Regions from separate parts of the Homo sapiens genome. Here all the other regions are linked to region 3. Evidence: promoter capture Hi-C in 16 types of primary human blood cells and fetal thymus (Javierre and others, 2016). All regions are on one chromosome and are shown on one strand. The core of a region is centred on a gene start or on the middle of the fragment in contact, and the rest is flanking DNA. Distances in the headings are between cores, read along the strand shown.

Region 1 (2,700 bases), core at 134-2,633, 210 kb before region 3:
TGGCCCAGAAGTGAGGTTAATCCTACCAGTGATGATAATGGACAGACAGTGGCCCCTTCTCCTGCTTTCTCACACTTAAAAGAGCCGTGTGATATTGTTTGGCTGTGCCCCCACCCAAATCTCATCTTGAATTGTAGTTCCCATAATCCCCATGTGCCATGGGAGGGACCCGATGGGAGGTAATTGAACCATGGGGGCGGTTACCCTCATGCTGTTCTCATGATAGTGAGTGAGTTCTCATGAGATCTGATGGATTTATAAGGGGCTTTCCCCCACCTTCACTCGGTACTTCTCTCATTCTTCTCCTTCCTGCCACCAAGCGAAGAAGGATGTGTTTGCTTCCCCTTCTGCCATGATTGTAAGCTTTCTGAGACCTCCTCAGCCCTGCGGAACTGTGAGTCAATTAAACCTCTTTCCTTTATAAATTACCCAGTCTCAGGTATTTCTTCATAGCAGTGTGAGAGCGGACTAATATACAGTGCCATCCAGAACCTCCATTAGACTCTGCACAAGTTTGGTGGCTATTGAAATACTAGAATTCTGAGACCCAGATTCTTAGGGGAGAAAATCACTTGGTAGGTGAGAAAATCATAGTCACAGTTTAAGCATCACTTTATAATGACCAGTATCCATGAGTTGGATGCTGGGATGACATGGAAAGGCAGCATCCTGGTGCCACAGCCGCCCTCACACTAATGAGCATTCATCTGTGCACAGTGCAAGACTGTTTGCGCCAAGGCTATGATTAGATGAGTGGAACTTTTTCCTGTTCTCACAGAATTGTCCCAAACAGCAAGTGCTCAGTACCCCTCCTTCTAAAGACAGTGGCTTAAATTTGGAACCAGACACATCCCCTCCAGTTATTAAATATCCCTGGAAACAGCCCTTCTGTTATCAACTACACTCACACACACACACCCGACCCCTGCAGTCTGTTCCTTATGGGAAGAGTTGTAGGAAAGGGAGAGAGAATCAACAAGGGTCTGAGCTCAGCCCTGCAATAATCTGAGGGTTTTGCTACCAAAGCCTTGTAGGGGCAGCATCTATGTGAGAGGCCATTCCCTTGACTCCACTAGATTCACCTAAGGTGTTATTAGAGGACAGGAAATGGAATTAAAGAGACCACAATTAATTATGGTGATCAGAAAAAATACTATCATTTTATGTTAATCCATTATAAGAATTAAGATGGACCAATAAACTGGTTACAGTCATAAATCTGTCATTTCACATTTTTTTACATCCATATCATATACTATCTAAATAACACCCCTGAACCAATTCAAATGCAATTTTATATTTATTTACCTATTTTTTATTGAGGTAAGAACACTTAGCAAGTGATCTATCCTCTTAACAAACTTTTATGTGTATAATACTGTATTGTCAGCTATACCAAATGAAATTTTTGCTCAGAACAGTATGCAGTAACCTTTTTTTTTTTTTTTTTTTTTTTTTTTTTTTTTTTTTTGAGACAGAGTCTTACCACTCCGTCACCCAGGCTGGAGTGCAGTGGTGCCATCACAGCTTACTGCAGCCTGCACCCCTCTGGCTCAAGCAACTCTCTCACCTCAGCCCTCTGAGTAGCTGGGACTACAGGCATGCACCACCACACCCAGCTCATTTTTGTGTTTTTTGTAGAGACTGATTTTTGCCATGTTGCTCAGGCTGGTCTCGAACTCCTGGGCTCAAGTGATCCATCTGCTTTGGCCTACCAAAGGGCTGGGATTACAGACGTGAAACATCGCACCAGGCCAACATGCAGTAACCTCTTTAACATTAATCATTAGGGCCTCCCTGATCTCTTTCCCCTTAACAAAGCCTCTCCTGGGTTCCTTCATTTATACCTAGGTATAAATGACTTAAAAAGCTAATATTAATGCTTTGAGCATTCAGAGGATTGCAAAGATTCACTAGACCTGTCTAATTGCTTTGGAATCCCTAATTATAGGCACTTACTGACTTCCCCATGGTCATTTCCAACCTAGAGGGCAGTCAGCAAGTCTGAGTAATGCCTGTCAGAGCCACTGGGTGGCACTGGCAGGCTGAGATGTGGGCAAGAGGGAGGAAGAAAGAAAGGAAAGGAGGCCAGGAGAGAGTCAAGGAGGAAGAGGAGGCAAGAGAGGGAGAGAGATTTTTTTAAAACAAGGGAGAGAGAAAGAAAGCAGAGAAAGAAAGACTAGGCCGCAGGGAACTGCTTTGCATGGCCTTGTATAGCCTCTGTGGTTACCAGTGACACAGACCTACAGTTTAATTCAGTACTTCCCAGCTGGGAGCTGAGTGTGCCGTACTCATCTGCCTATTCCCACTACCTAGCAGGGTGCCTGGCTCTCGGCTGATGCTCTGGGTCTGTGGACTGATGGAATGAATGCTGCTGCCCCTCTAGGAAGCGGTCCTCAAATGGAAAGCTTGAGGCAGTGTGGTCTGAATGCTCCATCCTAATGTTTTGGGATGACTTAGTTGAAAATTCAAGAGGCAATGCCTTATGAGGAAGCAAGGTAGGAATATTGGCACACACAGAGGTTAAGATTTTCCAAGGGTCAATTCATTCTGTCAAGAACTAATAGTAAATATTTCAGTCTTAGCAAGTCACACAGCCTCTGTTACAACTACTGACAGAGAGCCACTGACAATATGTAAATGGTTGGTGTGGCCGTGTGCCAATAAAATTTTCAAAAACTGACAGTAGGTCAAATTTGG
Region 2 (2,700 bases), core at 43-2,542, 230 kb before region 3:
GGCTTTGAGCTTTGAGGTCTTGCATTTGGCAAACCAAGGTCTCCTATAGGACGAGAGGCCCCCAGCAGGACTAGTGGTATGTGTCAAGTTCTTGGATGAGCAAACCAAAGCACAAGGCCTCCTTTCAACCTTGCCATGGTAGAGGCATGGAGAGACCTCTGTGACTCCTCAATGCTTCACTGCTGATATGAAATATGCATTCTGCAAAAGCAAGCTTTAAACATAAAATAAGCCAGGTGCAGTGGCTCAGCACTGTAATCTCAGCACTTTGGGAGGAGGTCAGGAGTTTCAGACCAGCCTGGACAACATAGCAAGACCCCATTTCTAAAAAAAAAAAATTAAGAAATTGGCCACATGCAGTGGTGCACACCTGTAGTCCCAGCTACTTGGGAGGCTGAGGTGGAAGAATTGCTTGAGTCTGGGAGTTCAAGGCTGCAGTGATGGCACCATTGCACACCAGCGTGGTGGATGACAGAGCCACGAGACTCTGACTCTAAAAAAAAAACAAAAAAACCGGCTGGGCATGGTGGGCTCATGTCTGTAATCCCAGCAGTTTGGGAGGATGAGGCCGGTGGATCACTTGAGGTCAAGACTTCGAGACCAGCCTGGCCAACATGGTGAAACCCCGTCTCTACTAAAAATACAAAAGTTAGCCGTGCGCGATGGCAGGCACCTGTAATCCCAGCTACACAGGAGGCTGAGGCAGGAGAATCACTTGAACCTGGAAGGCGGAGGTTGCAGTAAGCAGAGATGGGCCATAGAGTGAGACTGAATCAAGAAGAACCCAAAAAACAAAAAAACCCCAAAACCCATACAATACAAAAGCATATTTGCCAAATAGAAAATGTCAGTGTCATTAGAAAGCTAATAAGTAGGAGCCTAGGGAGAGGGAAAAGATAGCTACAGATGTCGCACTGAGTGAAACTTTCTCAGCAACTGCTGCTTTTTTTCAATTTTAATACCACGGAAGCAGAGACTTTGACCTATCGTCAAGGCAGGATTGCAGAATGGTTCCGGGGATTTAAAGTCAGTCAGGATTGTTTTCATGTCTCAACTGTGCCACTTACTTTTTGTGTGCCCTTGGGCAAGTTACCTAATCTCTCTGTGCCTCAGTCTCATCAACTGTAAAACGGAAGCAATAGGAATACCTACCTCACTGGACTATTGTGAAGGTTATGGGAGATGGTGCTTATAAGGAGCCTAGCCAAGAACTTGACTCACATGGGTTAATATGTACTGAACAGAGGTAATTTTTAAGGGGATTTTGTTAGCCCATGCAAGTAACAATTCATTCGCTTGAAAGTTCAGACCGAGAGCAGATTGTTGAGTTTTTGGTTGTTGTTGATATTTGAGCTCTTCTTTTGCTACTGCCTTAGAAGGTCCTAATTCATCCAGTATATTTGGAGCTAATTGTATTCATTGCTAAACAACAATTTCAGTTCCAATGGGTGACAGAATCAAATTCTTTCACATTATCTTAGTCCCTGGAAATGGGTTAGTGGACCAGAGTCATCTTGTTAATTCGCAGAAATGGCCGAGAGAGGGATCCATTCCAAATCTTATCCATTAACTCCATGGAAACCGGACTGAATCCATGTTCTTTACATAGAGTGGAAATGATACTTGGGAAGTTCCACAGTCTGAAATCCAGCTCTATAATAAGAACCATGTTGCTGATGTCAGCAGCTAGGAAGCTGCAGGGTATTGAAAGTCTTTGGGACTCCAGCATCCACTCATATTTATAGCAATGTTGCTTTTTTACCCTTGAAATGACACATCGTCTTAGAATTTTAAAGAGTGTTTCAAATCTGAGCTGGCTGAGCCCATTTGCAAGCCCATGGAGGAGCTGTGCTATTGAAGAAGTAGCTGTCACCTTACAAATGAGGAATAGAGTTACATCAGAAACTACTCATCCACAAATTTCTTTAGAAGTAGGATCTTCAGACAGTTCTCAGACACTGGAGGAAGTCTAAGTCTTTGGAACCCACCACAGTATAAGTGAAGGAGACAAATTCTTTCACGTGTGGCCAGTGAAATAACAGCTAACTGAACTTGACAACATTTCAAAACATTCCCAGGAAATATGCAAGATATGGATGAGTAGCTACTAAATGTAGGTATACATGTCTCATTTTACATCCTTTGAGATAAATAGTATGAAAAAATAGTACTTAATATCTTTTTGGATGATTCTGTTCTGGAATCACCTAAATGACATGAAAATTGTCATCTGTTATGAATGAGAATAATAACCTCACGAAGTAATTTTTATCCTAAATTCAGATTCTGTCTGCTTTTCCCTCCCCTCTCTTTCCACATGCTGTAATGGGATAAATGATGTTTTCAATTAGGGAGGGATGGGAAAAATTAAGAAGCTTTAGGAAAAGTATATCCTGAATTTCCAAAAGCTGTCTAGGTCAGTCGAGAGTCTAGTCAGAAAGTGTATTCATCCTGCCTGGATATTTCCATTGACGGCGGAAGCGAGGCAGGGACAGCTGAAGATGATTACACTTGTGACCCTTTCCCAGGGAGATCCTAAAGTTGAAGGTACTTTGGAGGCTCGCAGCTTGTTACCATTTTGCCTTTATTTCTCTGTGTAAGCAGTCATGCTGAATGAATTTGTGATGCACTTAATAAACACTTGGGGGAATGATTTCTTGCTTCCTCGAGCCATGTTTTTAAATCTGGTCTACACCACCC
Region 3 (2,700 bases), core at 164-2,663:
CCCTTAACACCGGCATTCTACAAATGAATAAATTGAGGCCCTAAAAGGGTAGGATTTGCCTAACGACACACAGCTTGTAAGTACACACAGTAGGCTGGAACAACAATATCCTGACTCTCGTTTGGTGCTTTTACACCAATTCAAGCTGCTGTTTTTGGTAAGACTGTACTTATTTCTGCTCTGCTGCTCATGCTTTGCTGGGTACTTAGTATTCACTATCCTACAACTTATTCCCTCATCTGCAATCTGGGAATAATAATAGTGCCTGCCTCTTAAGAGTTGCTGCAAGGATTAAATAGTATAACATTCATTATATAATGCACTTAACACAGTGCCTGGCATATTGTGAGTACTCATTAGCCAGGTTATGTAATCCACTTTAAAAAGTATGCCTATTTTAACTGGAGAGGATTCACTGAACCACTCCAATTACAAAATGTACAAGAAACCCATGTTCAGCTTTGGAATCCAAAAAGACTTTAAACTCAGGGTTAAGTTTAAAGTCATAGTATCTAATGTCTTGCTTTTCTAGTCATTTACTTATGCCAAAAGTTAGTTCACGCCAAGGAGAAGGATGCCTCTGTGTAGTGAAACAATTTCACAATTACTGACTGAACTGACTGTTGCACACCACTATTTCTCCTAGGATGCCTCAGAACCATCTAGTAACTCCATCTCTGGGTGACGACAGGGAATCTGCATTTATAAAAGCCCGCTCCCCCTTCTCAGGCAAACCAAGATTTGATAACCACTAGTATGTTCAGAATCCACGACCACTGTAAATGGCCTCTCAAGTCTCTCCAGCAAAAAGCTATACTGCTCTGTAACCAGAAGAGCAGCGTCATCAGGTCCTGATGCAAACAACAGCTGGGCCCAGCTGGGCCCAGCTGGGCCGAGTAACCTTGATGATCACAGAGGACGGCCTGGACCCCCTCCCCTCCTAGGAAACACAAAATTATAAAAGCGCCCTCCTGCAATTCCCGTGGGAGACAGTGCTGCCTAGGCCGCTACGAGGAGCTAAGGCTGACTCAACAGCCTCCTTCCCAGGGGCAAGGCCAAAGGAAGGCGACCCTGCATGGCTAACCAGGCCCCAGCGCGGCGCCAGAAGGTTAACGACCCTCCCTGCCCCTTTCCTTATGAAGGCCAAGAGCCTCCACTACTCCGGGGGCCAGCTGACGGAAGTGCGTCACTCCACCCTGCGGGGAGTGCCGGGAGTTGTAGTCAAGTGGCTACTAATCTTCCACCCCGATTCATCTTTTCTAAAACAAGAAAAACACCTCTGCATCCTGAAAAAGATCGCTTTATGCCCAACATGTGTAATAGTTCCTCTATTTTCCAATCAACAAACTGAACTATCTCAGAGCTCAAGCGGAAGGCCGGACTACAAGTCCCGGCATGCTCCGCAGGGTCCCCGGGCGCCCGGCCACCGTCGTAGGTGCGGGCCGCATGAATGGAGCGCCGGGCGTAAGGCAAAGCCTGGCACCGTCTGCGCGGCCGCTATCTGCTCCCGGAGCGTGAGTGCGGGGTGTGGGGCGTGCGCGTGCGCGCTCAGAGGGGGCTCAAGGCGAGCGCGCCGGGCAGTTGCGGGCGCGTGGCTGCTGAGGTTGGCGGCGGTGCCGCGCGCCCGACGGGCCGGTGGTTGCGGGGCCTCCCGCCTCGACCCGGGCTGGGGGCAGCCGTGGCGGCCGCCGGGGACCGCAAGGGGCGGAGGAAAGGAGGGGGCCGGTCCCGGCACGCAGAGGAGCAGCCGACCATGCCCCGAGACAACATGGCCTCCTTGATCCAACGGATCGCCCGCCAGGCTTGCCTCACCTTCCGGGGCAGCGGGGGCGGCCGCGGCGCTTCCGATCGCGACGCGGCTTCTGGCCCGGAGGCGCCGATGCAGCCGGGCTTCCCCGAGAACCTGAGCAAGCTGAAGAGCCTCCTGACCCAGCTCCGCGCCGAGGACTTGAACATCGCCCCGCGCAAGGCCACACTGCAGCCGCTGCCGCCCAACCTGCCGCCAGTCACCTACATGCACATCTACGAGACGGACGGCTTCAGCCTGGGCGTGTTCCTGCTCAAGAGCGGCACGTCCATCCCGCTGCACGACCACCCGGGCATGCACGGCATGCTCAAGGTGCTGTACGGCACCGTGCGCATCAGCTGCATGGACAAGCTAGACGCGGGCGGCGGGCAACGGCCGCGGGCCTTGCCGCCCGAGCAGCAGTTCGAGCCGCCGCTGCAGCCCCGGGAGCGAGAAGCCGTGCGGCCGGGCGTGCTGCGTTCGCGGGCCGAGTACACCGAGGCCAGCGGCCCCTGCATCCTCACACCGCACCGGGACAACCTGCACCAGATCGACGCCGTGGAAGGGCCTGCCGCCTTCCTGGACATCCTGGCCCCGCCCTACGACCCGGACGATGGCCGGGACTGCCACTATTACCGGGTGCTGGAGCCGGTCAGGCCCAAGGAGGCCTCCAGCTCGGCCTGTGACCTGCCTCGAGAGGTGTGGCTCCTGGAGACCCCACAGGCCGATGACTTCTGGTGCGAGGGAGAACCCTATCCAGGTCCCAAGGTCTTCCCTTGAAGCCACTGGCGCCCAGGAGCGGTGGGCCGAAGACGTGCCCTACCCTACCACAAGGGCTGTGTCTCTACCCCCTAGCCTGGGCGTTGGATCTACTGGAATGAGCAGCAGCCGCTTCCTCGGCAGCCTTGGGAAGC

What was found. The method cuts DNA at HindIII sites, captures the fragments that hold promoters and counts their contacts. A CHiCAGO score of 5 or more calls a contact.
Region 1: a fragment that was not itself captured here is called in contact with the fragment with the promoter of ADO in region 3 in 6 of 17 cell types (M2 macrophages, M1 macrophages, monocytes and 3 more); the score reaches 15.8 in M2 macrophages.
Region 2: a contact is called between a fragment that was not itself captured here and the fragment with the promoter of ADO in region 3, in 1 of 17 cell types (M2 macrophages). The highest score is 5.2, in M2 macrophages.

What each region holds. Positions count from the first base shown.
Region 1 is chr10:62,592,171-62,594,870 of GRCh38, forward strand. No RefSeq gene overlaps it. Among named protein-coding and RNA genes, the nearest start is that of ADO, 210 kb to the right of the region's middle. The HindIII fragment of the contact is 2,045 bases long and covers 362-2,406 here.
Region 2 is chr10:62,576,065-62,578,764 of GRCh38, forward strand. No RefSeq gene overlaps it. Among named protein-coding and RNA genes, the nearest start is that of ZNF365, 200 kb to the left of the region's middle. The HindIII fragment of the contact is 2,161 bases long and covers 213-2,373 here.
Region 3 is chr10:62,803,307-62,806,006 of GRCh38, forward strand. It overlaps ADO (2-aminoethanethiol dioxygenase), which reads left to right and starts at 1,414. Exons shown (of 1, transcript NM_032804.6): 1 at 1,414-2,700. The coding sequence starts at 1,754. The coding sequence ends at 2,566. RefSeq lists enhancers at 1,169-1,428, 1,899-2,018 and a silencer at 1,469-1,718. The HindIII fragment of the contact is 5,397 bases long and covers 1-2,700 here.